Linked DNA regions of Homo sapiens: region 1 is linked to region 2. The links are contacts of gene promoters, found by promoter capture Hi-C in blood cells and fetal thymus (Javierre and others, 2016). All regions are on one chromosome and are shown on one strand. The core of a region is centred on a gene start or on the middle of the fragment in contact, and the rest is flanking DNA. Distances in the headings are between cores, read along the strand shown.

The links. Contacts are between HindIII fragments. The CHiCAGO score rates a contact against its expected background, and 5 or more counts as called.
Region 1: the fragment with the promoter of ZDHHC23 here is called in contact with the fragment with the promoter of ZBTB20 in region 2 in 1 of 17 cell types (neutrophils); the score reaches 5.3 in neutrophils.

The regions. Positions count from the first base shown.
Region 1 is chr3:113,944,606-113,950,144 of GRCh38, reverse strand. It overlaps ZDHHC23 (zDHHC palmitoyltransferase 23), which reads right to left and starts at 2,132. Exons shown (of 5, transcript NM_001320466.2): 1 at 1,955-2,132; 2 at 1,182-1,459. The coding sequence starts at 1,342. GRAMD1C (GRAM domain containing 1C) reads right to left here. Exons shown (of 18, transcript NM_017577.5): 18 at 2,971-4,747. The coding sequence ends at 4,667. RefSeq lists silencers at 1,550-1,649, 2,000-2,499 and an enhancer at 2,214-2,714. The HindIII fragment of the contact is 7,070 bases long and covers 1-3,659 here.
Region 2 is chr3:115,144,783-115,151,275 of GRCh38, reverse strand. It overlaps ZBTB20 (zinc finger and BTB domain containing 20), which reads left to right and starts at 3,988. Exons shown (of 12, transcript NM_001348800.3): 1 at 3,988-4,057. RefSeq lists silencers at 2,993-3,212, 3,773-3,942, 4,253-4,522 and enhancers at 3,263-3,472, 5,203-5,312. The HindIII fragment of the contact is 9,545 bases long and covers 1-5,167 here.

The sequences.
Region 1 (5,539 bases), core at 883-3,382, 1.2 Mb after region 2:
CGGTGGAAACACAGAGGAGAGGGGTACAGAGAGAGCAGAGGAGATGCCTCAGGGGACAGCCAAGGTCTCCAGGGCTAGGAGGGAGGAAGAGTTAGCAAGGTTAATGGAAGAGCTGCGGTCTTGAGTGATGGTGGTTATGGAAACAGCATCATTTCTCCATTCATTAGTGCAAAGTGCTCTATTTTCTCAGTATAGATTTCAGACTAAATCTAAAGAACCTATATTCAAAGACATCCATAAAAAAGACTACACAGTACACTGTCAAGTAAGAACGACAAAGGGTTCACTGGGTTTTTAATAGTCAAGGCTGGTACTAGACTGCAGACCCCAGGGAATGCTTTTCATGGCTGTATTAATGTATCAAGTTCTAAGTCAACAAATTGGCAGTTGCAATGACTTTTTTAACCAGAAATAATTATTAATGGGAAAAGCAAGTTTCCAACATCCCTATCCTTCCCACATTATGACTTCCATTGACAGTGATTTTTAAATATATAATTACTCAGAAAATGGATTAAAACCAGATTATTCACTGTCCGACACCAAATTTTTTCAGTGATGTTAAAAATTCTCTTTTTGGATAGTAATTTCCATCACTTGGAAAATAAAAGCCAAATACAGTATGATCAATCAAGAGTGTTGCTGGTCGCACTGAAAACTGTGAATCCAGGGGAGATACATGCCTTCTGGCTGGAGTTCCTCCCCAGAAACAAGGGGCAAGACCAGTACTAACAGCAGGAAAATGAAATTTCAACCCACAAGGCCCTCTGTGGTCAGGTGCCACCCAGTCCCAAGTAGTCAGTCTCTAAATGCTGAGACCTCTGAGAAGGCAGGAACTTTCTGGAACTATTGTGTTCATTTTAAACTTACAGATTCTGCTGGCTTGCATTTTATTTTATACTAACTTGCCTACTATCCCTTTAAACTGCCTGTTCTCTCCCTCATCTCTCTTTAAACGAAAAATAATATCCTATAAAACAGAGCAGACAGACAGCTGTGCACTACTGCGTAATCCATCTTTCTAAAATCCTCACACTTGACACAGAAGCCAACTCTCATTTTAGATGCTTGGAAATAGAATCAAGAGCAAATTCTAGCATTCTGGGTGGCTAGGTTGAAAGTACACATGGCAGTTCTCAGAAGGGTGATGGGGCCAGCGTCAAGAAATGCTCTGTTCTTACCGATCACACCCTTCATCCAGATCTTGACAATCACACAAACAAGTAGCCACGTGGTTCTTTTCCCCATTCCGATCTATGTACTCGCAGCAGCACAGGGGCTCCAATTCAGGTTCTTCGGTTTTCTTTTTCTTCACAGGCTTCATACTGCCCTTCTGTGTCATGATTTGCACCTGTCACCATGAGGCGTAAGAAGCCCTCAGAAGGTAAAGGTGGAAAGAACACAACTTACATCTCGTAAATAGGTCCACGCCTCTCTCTCTCTGCTTAACCTCCAACGCCTGAGCAATCAAAAATGAGAAGAGAGAGGGGGAGGGGGTCCCGTTTTCATCAGGCTTCTGTGGCTCCGCCTGGCCACACAGGGGGCTCCAGGGTTCTTGGAGGTCTGAGCTGCCTTCACCGCCCCTTCCCAGCCTGGGCAGGCGCCGTCTGGGCACCAGCCGTTCCTATGGCGACAGCCGACCACGCGTCCGGGACAGCCGGGGCGCGGGCGGTTGCGCTCACCTGCGGGTGCAGGCTGGGAGGGCCGAGCGGTCTCCGCTCCAAGCCTGGGCGCTGGTGGGAACTCAGCCTCGGGGCTATAGGGAAAGGCGAAGCATATGCCCGCTAGCAGCGGCTGACACACCAGGCTCCCTGGCAGTGCTCAGGGGTCGCGGTCCAGCCCAACTGGTCGGGCCCCTTGCAGGGTGCGCCTCTCCCGCCCCCGCCAATCCGGAGGACGTGGGCGGGCCTCGCGCACCACCCCGCCAGGAGAATGACCTTGGAAGGGAAGTTACCTGCCCTCTGGCCGGAGGTGCAACTGCAGCCAAAGAGGCGGAGGGGAGATGGGTCGGCTTCCCCGGAGGCACAGACGCGTCTCCCGATCTCTGCTACGCGGAGCCCCGGGCGTGACGGCAGGAGTCTCCGGGACCCGGGCTCCGCTCGGCCGCTCCCTCGCCGCAGCCGCCCACCTGTGACCACAGCCCGCCGCGGCCCGGGCGGCGCGCCCGCCTCCCCGCGCCGTCCCAACCGCCCCTCCGCCCGCCCGGCTCGGTGCGCCAGGTCCACGCGCGCTTCCGGGTGCCCCGCCCCCGGCGCCGGGGTTCCCCGCCTGTCCGCACGTGCGCCGCCCGCCTCCCCGCGGTGCCCGCGGGCGAGGCTCCTCCTCCTGGCCCGCGGCCCTGGCGCCGGGAAGGGGAAAATCGGCTCCCGAGAGCGCGTCCAGGAGGCAGGGGCAGGAGGTGGGTCCCGCACCTCCGGCCTGCCCCGCCACGCCACGCCCCGCCCCGCCCCAGAGGCGGCAGCCGGGCGCCGCCGGTGCCTGCGGGCGGCGCGCCGGTGGGACAGCCTCCGGAGCCCCGGGGTGCGGACGAGGTGCGGAGACGGAAATACGGGAAACCCGGGAACCCGGAGGATTTCCGAACTACGTGAGACCGTGGAGCCGCCAGCCTTCATTCAGACTCCGGCAACAGGCGGTGAGGGAGCTTTCCACCGCAAAATGTTATCCAAGTACCTCCCCCAGTTTCGCTGACCTTCTCTTAAAGGCCCATCACTGCTGCCGGATCTGTTCATTTAGCAACCTGTTCGTTTCATGATTTCTGGCTAGCAGCCTTTACATTGGACCAGCAGGCCTCGCTAGTACTTTTGTTCCAGTCGTCTGTGTATTTGAGATGAAACTGCCCTGAGATGAGAGTCCTTTTTGGGTTTTATTATTGCACAAAATTTCTTTAAAGAGTGTGGGCCCATGTACACGTTTCACTACCGCAGGCTTTCTAGTTTTGTTTTTAAGTAGAAAAAGAAGAAAAACTACAACTCAGAAATTTTCAATTTTATTAATATTCAATTTACGTAACAGGCTCAAATTTTATTAATTGAATTCTGCATCCATACGAATTTAGTCTTAATTTATAAAGCAACTTACTTCGATACTCTTCCTTGAAGTATGTTATAAAATACAACGTTTAAATAAACATCACAAAAATATTGTTTGTCGATCATTTTTGTGACTTTAACAGAGAAATCTTCAAGTTTATAATCCACTCATTCTTGCTTACAGCCAGACACTACATAAATCCTTACCAAAACAAAACAAACCCAGGTAGGTTCACTGTTACCCCTAGGTATGCTTCGTTGGAATTCACCCAGAGAAACCCATTTTCCCTCTAACGGAGTCAATACTTTCATTCTCTACAGGCATCTCAAAAATGACTATAATAATGCCATGTGGCTTTGGGGACTCTGGAGAAAAATGAAACATTTAATTAAAGGCAATAGTTGTTCAAACAGTAAGAATGTATACACAGTTTATATATAGATAGATAGATGGATATGTATTTTTTCCCCAGAGAAAGGGCTCAAGAGACAAAACAGTAAAACACTTCAACTTTCCCTAACTCTTGAAAAAATATCTGATTTTAAGTCAGTTTACAAAGTTCTTATTTTAATGAGCCACTTGTATGGAGACACATATGCATAAAAACTTTTTATGAAAGAGCCAAAGCTTGCATCTGAGTTAAAACTTGATAGTCAGTACACTTGTACTGGGACATACGTGCCCCTGAAGTTTTTATTAAAGAGCTAAAATCTATGTCTGGCTTATAACTTACCAATCAAAACAAGTCACACACATACATAAAGAAGGAAGCCATACATGGTTACTGAAAATACACAAATTATTTTCAACCAGATGTGTCACTTCCACCATGAAAGACTGCTAAGCTGAAGCCAATCTTAGTTCAAGTATGCATTTGATCTGTCACTAAATGCCCAGATTTTAACATAACCTTCTGGTTTTTAAAACTCAGAGGATGGTTCTTCCTTTTGACTGTTGGTATTCTAAGTGAGGAGGCAAGATAATCCCACCTCTGATAGTTACCTTAAGAAAAAACAACTATTTCTTTCATAAAGATACAGCATGGCAGAAGACCCTTTCTGATAATCATCATCAACATGCAGATTCAAAAAGTTTGACTATTAAATTTGCATGCTAAATAAATGAAGACATTATAATCTTTACAGTACACAAACCTGGAAATGTTATATGCCTGAAAACAGAACCTTTAAAATCAGTAATGACATAGAGGTTTCTTCTTATATTGTCCTGTTTATCCTCTTGGTCTTATCTCAGTTACAAAAGCGACCTATTGGACATGTACGGATTCTGTGCTAACAAAGCATCAGACTTCACTGTAGAAATGAGACCATACCACTCAATTCAGGGTGTGTCATTTTCTTTTTGTATCAGAGAAATTCAGTTCTATAATATATTTCATGGTTCACTGAAGAAATTCACAGCTTAAAAATATCTATAAGAAGTGAAAGGATGGATTATTAAGGCCAGCAGAAACTAATTATCAAATAAATGTTACTGAAAGAAATGTTCATATTAGAAATCTCAATAATGAAAAAACATAGAAATGTTCTATGCCAAAATCCTTCATTCGTCTGGTTTTCTTCCAGGTATTTTCTTTAAGTTCCAAGTATCTCTGCGGTTTTAGTCCTTCAGATCACTAGCTTTCAACAGCCATGCCAGTCTTATTCTTATTTAGTAGATCAAACGTTTTCTGAAGCATAATGAGTGAGCTCTTCAGCTGTAAACAAAGTTAATTTTCAAAATCAGATTAATTTTTCTAATCAGATTTGAAAATTTCTGTTTTTTATGCCCAAAATTTACAGTGACACTTAATATAGTTTTGTTTATACTGATGCCCAAATAAAACGTTAAATACAAAATACCTGATTCTTTGGGGTATCTATCAGTATGATTGCTACAGAGTTCTTCCCATTTGCTGGAGTATTGTACTTCTTCCTACTGCTACATAGTCTACCTCCCAATAGGTCCATTAATCAAATTAAGCGTAGTGACAGACTCGTTTTCCTAAAAGATTTCTGAAGTTGCAGTGGTCTCCTCACTATCCCCTAAACAACTCAAGTTTGCTTCAGTGCCTTTGCATGCTCTCATCCTCATGTTCTTCACCTAAAACTTACTCATATTCACACTCTTCATGTAGTTTTCCCCAGTCATTCTGCCTATAAACTCCCAAAGCATTATCCTTACTACTTAACACTTTGACACTGAATTTTGTAATCTTTGTCATTAACAATACACCTGGACATCTCATTTCTCTAAGAAAATTGTGTGCAACTCAAGAGCAGGAATTATGTCTTACTCTTTTTTTGTATTCATTCAACAAATATTTGTTGCTTGCCTATCACATGTTGGGCAGTGTTCTAAGCACTGGATATACAATGGAGAACCAAATAGGCACTGTCCTGTCCTTCATGGAGCTTACAGACTAGTCAGGGATCCAGAACTATTAATAAAACAAATAATCACATACATAAATATATACTTAGATATTTTATTAAGTTTTTGACTTGAG
Region 2 (6,493 bases), core at 2,739-5,238:
TTTCCTTTAATATTGTTTTATTGGCTGTTATCTGCTCAGGTTATTAATGAGCTCATGTATAGAAAAGTAGTACCTGTCTTTAGGCAAATGGCAAAAATATGAAGTGACATGTATTTCATATGTGGTTGTGTGTGTGTATGGATGGAAAATTCTCTAACAGATACTGAAAAAAAAATCTCAAAAGTTACTGCTTCCCTGATTTTGTACTTCCACTCTTCAAGGTGTACTATTTATTCTATTATTCTTTCCATTTGGCTAGTGTATATATATATATGTGTGTGTGTGTGTATATATATATATACATATACACACACTACATATGTATACATGTATACATATGTAGTGTGTATATGTATATATATATATACACACACACACACACATATATATGTCTCATTAGCGCCCTTATTAAAATCTAAGTCCCTGGGGAGCAAGACTTGATTTGATTAACTTTTGAATTCAGTATAGTGATCAGTTCAGGGTGTTACAAATATTTTCAGCTGCTTAAGAGTTAGGCATTCTTTGCTATGTATTCCTGTGCTGTATATGCCATATGTGTATGCAGCATAATTCATCCCTTTATTTCTCTCTTCCAAGACACAGTCAAGTCTTTGGAGAAAAATGCCAATTCTTCTGCTTAGTTGCTAAGTTCCTGGCATCTTAAATGTCCAATAATTATAGTTAGTATGAAGATACACACTTAGTACTTGTTGAATGAGTAAATAGTATAGTGGAAAGAGGCAGACAGACTTGAGTTTGAAAACAAGCTCTGCTACTTGTGACGCTGGATAAAGTATTCGAAGTCTGTGTCCTCATTAGTAACGTAAGTAGATTACATTTGCTACTAGTTTGGCCTCTTCTGGAGCCTTGGGAACTGTAAACTATAATCTGTGAAGGCAATAGGTAGACTAATGGACTAAAAGAAGTATAAAAGTCTTAAAATTCTTCTCTAAGCAGTCACTTGTATTTTCATTTTTTATCAATCTTGCCTTCTTCATCATCTTCCCTTCCGTGTTTTTGAGACGGAGTCTCGCTCTGTCGCCAGGCTGGAGGCAGTGGTGCAATCTGGGCTCACTGCAACCTCCAGCTCCCGGGTTCAAGAGATCCTCCCGCTTCAGCCTACCGAGTAGCTGGGACTACAGGCGCGCGCCACCACACCCAGCTGTTTTTTTGTATTATCTTCCCTTCCTTTCTTACCACATCTTGCTTATTTTATTCTTTTTCTCAATTCTGCTATTTGCTAACCAAGAAAACATCTCTCTTGATCCTTGACATAATTATGGAATTCTTGGTACATCTTTTGGGGTGTTTGTATCTGAGTGTGATCAAGGTATGTAGATGTGTAATGTAAATATGAAAATTGAGGGATTTCTTAGAGGCAGAAAGATTCTAATTCCAGTTTCTAATATCACACGAACAGGACATAACTACTACCTTAAATAGGGGCAGTAATACCTAGGGCTTCACCTTATCATTATTATTTGAATTAGAATATCTTGCATTGCTTTCCTAGTGTGCCCTATCATAATCTTAACTCTCATGCCAATAGGTTGAATAATACCTTTAAAATTTTGTTGAAAACAACAAGTTTTAAGAATGACTTGGAAGGAGTGGTCATTGCTCCTTGGAGAAGTTATAGGAGTAACTGTGTGAACGCCAATGTTAAATTTTACTGATTTTTCTCATGCGCTGCTGATTGTTCTGTATGGAATACTTATTATTCTTACTAAATCACTTTTTTTCTTTTTCATTTTTTTCTTTTTTTGTGAGACAGGGTCTTGCTCTGTCACCAGGCTGGAGTACAGTGGTGCGATCTCGCCTCACTGCAAGCTCTGCCTCGAGTTCCAGCGATTTTTCCTGCCTCAGTCTCCCTAGTGGCTAGGATTACGGGTGTGCGCCACCACATCCGGCTAATTTTTGTATTTTTTAGTAGAGACGGGGTTTCACCAGGTTGGCCACGCTACTCTCAAATTCCTGACCTCAAGTGTTCCGCCTGTCTTGGCCTCCTAAAGTGTTGGGATTACAGGTGTGAGCAGCTGCACCCAGTCAATATCACTTTTTAGCTAAGATTTATATATAAGTTTAAAAGTGTTTTGGCTTCCAAACTCACTAGCAATTCCCAGACTTCAAAATTGACACCACACACAGTAATTTTCTGGATTCTCAAAGCCTCATACATATAATCCTCACAAGATAGCTTTAATAGTATTAATGAGGTCAAGGCCCTTACTTTTTTTTTTTTCACCAGGGCCAATTTATTTTGCTTAGTTTCTGTCAAAGACCTCTAACCAGGCATCTTATGTGAAAGCATGCTGTACGTTCCAAAGAAGCCTGGGTTAAAATCCAGATGACTTAAGTCTATTGGAAATTATACATCAAATCCATGTCCTAGAAACAATGTCATTTTCAAATCCCAAGTACAGTGTATTCTTTGCATGCATGGTATTTTTGATAAAGTCTCTTATTTTGTGACAAAATATTGCTATATCAGCTGCCTAAAAAAGTGCAACTTAGTTTGGCAGTAATTATTTTTTTTTCTTTGTATAGTGAAAAGCGATTTCCCCAACCCTCCCATCTTGGCCCTTGTAAGAAATCCTTTTTAGGAATCTATCCTGGGCTTCCTGCTGGACTTCAGCCTCATTTTTTTCTCCAATGCCTGAGTACTGGACCAATATTTGGTAAGAATTTGGCTCTGGGGAGTGCTATGTTGAATGACAAATGGTTGAGGACGAAGATTTTATTGAAGCATTTGAACCACACTTAATTTTCCGTGTTGCTTTATTTGTTCCTTTTACCACCCAGGATATTGAATTCTGTGGGCTCTGGTTGAGTCGTTGGTACTTCAGGCGTTCAGTAATAAGAAACATAATCTGCTTTTTCCGGCAGGATAATAAATCTCATTTATATTAAGGGAGGCTTACTCCAAACTCTTTTACATAGTATTTTTCTAAATCTTCTGCATGAACAAATTCTTCCTTGAGCCCTAGCACTGGGGACCCGGTCTGGCAACCTGCGCCCCATTCCGCGGGAATCAAGCGTGACCCGGTGCGGCCTTGCGCGCTGCCGCCAGCCAGACCCTCCCTCCGGCTTTCCCACCCACCGCCCGGGATCCAGCCTCCATCCCGCTGCCTCAGCTGTCCAAGACAGCGACACCCCCCTCTCCGCTCCCGCGGCTCCCCCGGCGCAGCTCGCCGCGCCAGACAGCGGGTAACCGCCGCCTCCGCTGGGGCATCCCGGCTCCACAGGCCCAGCGCGCTCCAGACACCTGCCTCTCACTGGCCACCGCCGCTGCCCCTCACCCCGCAGCCCTCTCGGCAATTGGCCCCAGGCCGCCGCTCGTCATCCTCAGCCTTCTCCTAGAGTACCGCCTCCGTCGCCGGGTCATTTAAGTTTATCACAAATAAATAAATAAAGGAGGAAATAGAAATGCGTAGAAAGTAAAAGCAGTAGGGGGTGGGGGAGATGGGGCGTGGAGGAAAAGGAGGGAGGAGCGGAGGAGTAAGCAACCTAACCTGATTGCGCCTGTGTCGACCAATCATGGCTCACTCCAGTCCGGTCTGACGGGCTCCCTGAACCAATAGCCTTCCACCTCCCGGATCACTGAACAACGAGATACGATTGACCTTTTCAGAAAGGGTGAAGGTGCGGCGGGGGGAGGGGGTTGTGGGGGTGGGCGAAGTGGAAGGATTGTCCACCAATCGCCTGTTAATACTTCTCTGAGCGAAGTTTCCGCGTCCCAATGGATGTTTGAGATAGCGGATTGGGCCTCTTTTAGCCCAATCGAAGGTGACAGAGATGAGGGAAGAGGAAGAAAGGGGCGGGGACGGGGGGGCGGAGGGGAGAAGGAAGAGTGCATTTTGTTTATGGGCGGCAACCTCACGAGGGGCGTCCCATTCTCATTGGCTCACTGAAGCCAAGATTGGCGTGAGAGCTATCCTATAGCGGGGAGAGATAGAGGGTTCGCGGAGTGAAGCGTCCAATGTGGGCCTTCTGCCGAAGAAGTAGGGGCGGGGGGAAGTTTAGGAGTTGAGGAAAGAAGATTAAAGAGCGCGAGGAGGTAATGCCACAAACTCTAATTTGTTGTGGGACGGGCGGGAGAGAGGGAGGAGTGTGTGCGTGCCGAGGGGGATGAGGCGTCTGCGAGGCGCCTGGAGTGGGGGGCGGCGGGACTGGGAAGGAGGGGAGCGGGGTGGGGTTGGGGGAGCGAGTTACAGAGCGGCGAGCCAGCGGGCCCTGAGCTGGATGAGCGCGCGCGCCCCCGCGCCCCGCCCCGCCCCGCCCCGCCCGCGCCCCCTCCCCCGGCGCCCTTCTTAGCGCCCGGCGGCTGCCTCGCCCGACCCGGCGGGGAGGTGGGAGGGAGGCGCGGGAGGGTCGAAGGGTGGCGGGGCGGGCGGGACGTCCCGCAGCTGGAAACGTGTCTTCTGCCTTCTTCTCTCTACTCCCTGCGCCTGGAGCCGCTGCTTCCAAGAAGAGGAGCTGAGGGGGACTAGCCGGGGCTCAGGAGCTGCTAGAGGCGCCCGCTTGTCTTCTGCCCCCTCCCTCCTCGCCCTCCCCCGCTTGCCGTGGCTCTCGCGGTCTCTGGAGCGTCTTCAGAGAACTGGGGGGCAGGAGGTGTCCTGGCCCCACAGCCGCTGGATGTCTCTCCAGACGCCGGAGCTCCCGGCCCCCGCCTGCTTCGCTTCTACGACTAGAGAGGAGGGGGCTTGGGAAGGGAAGACACACCTTTCCTTCTTTCTCTTCTTTGGGCCACTTCGGAAACATTAAAACATGTTAACACTTTTTGATTCCTGATATAAAAATGGTTGGAAGGTTCTTGAAAGTTTAAAACAAATGCCGTCTCTCGTACACTGTTTAATGTATTCCTGTCTGTGTGGCTTTTGGGTCCTCCCCCCACCCCCCGCCCCCAGCTGTTATCCTTTTTAAGGATGCTGAAGAGGCAGGAGGCAGGGATTTTCTAAAAGTTCTATTGATAAACACACTTGCACAAACATATGCTAGGCACACACACAAACTAAACATTAGCGAAAAACACAATATGGCGTACAGCTACGGTACCTAGCGCGGTAATCCGCTGATCTCTCACTCCGAACTGGGTTGAATGAGGTCAGTAGCAGGATGACAGCTCTCCAATGAAAATCTGAATGAATCAGGAAGTAGTTTGGAAGCTTGCGGGTGTAGTACTGTCCTCAGAATCAGCATTGGCCAAACCTAAGTTGAACATGTTACCTTTCTAGACATGTGAAAATCTTCTCCACTGTTTTTTCTATTAAAAATACCAAAAGGGTGCTAAAGTCAAGTTTCCTCACTGCGTGGCGGTGTATACATTTCAGCTAAAAAAATTATAGAGGCCATTCACCCAATGTTTTCAAGTGAACGCTATTCTGAAGTTACTGTTGTAACTTGTTGCCATTGAAAGTTTTAAAACACAATTACCATTTTATAAATAAATAGCTGTAGACACTAAATTTAAGTGATAACCAGTCATCTTTAAATTTATAATGGTTTGTTTTCATTTCTGTTCATGCTCCCAATCCCAAGTACCCTTTGCTATTTTGTGGAAATATTTATATAGATCCCCCTCCACTCCCGGTCACATACAGTCAGCCCTTCCTGTGCCTGGGTTCTGCATCTGTGGATTTAACCAGCTGCAGATCAAAAATATTTTGGGTGTGGGGGAATAGATGGAATAGAATATATATAGTTTTTTTCTTGCCACAATTCCCTAAACAATACAGTGTAACAACGATTTATTAATACATGGCATTTACTTGTATTAGGTGTTATAAGTAACCTAGAGATGATTTAAAGTATGTGGGAGAATGTGATTAGGTTAAATGCAAATACTACACTATTTTATGTAAGGGACTTGAGCATCTGTGGATTTTGGTTTCCTAGAGAGGTCCCAGAACCAATCTCCCATGGATACTGAGGGTCAACTGTAAGTTTGTCCAGTCAAGATGTGGCTACTTTTTGCTTTTTTGCTTTAAAATGAAGAATCTGTATTTTTCTAGTGAAAGAAAAAAAATTACATTGATTTTCATGCCTTTGTTCTTTGTGATTCTTAGAATATATCAAAGTTGTTGCACACATAGTGCATGGTGATATCCCTGTGCCATCTTTCCAGTAGTCTCCCAGGAAAGCTTTTGAAATTGCCCTTGAGGAATTGCTGATGTAACTGTTCAGTACTCAAGGCTTAATTTTCAAGATTGGGGTTTTGATTTTTATGGAGCTCAATTTTGGAGGGCCTTAGGTTTGGGGACACATGGTGTTGAAGTAAACAGGTGAGAAGAAGAAAAGTGAGATTTCTAGAACTATATTAGCTGCTCAGTGAGTTGGGCAATTGGATATTTTTGGTTTTATGATTTCAGATTTTATAGACCAGTGGAATACAGGCCTTGTGCATATGAAGATCAGGTGACAAGTTTGCTGCCTACCAGCCTCCACAGCAATATGCCCTTTCACGGTGAGGTCCTAATTTTAACAAGCTAAAGAA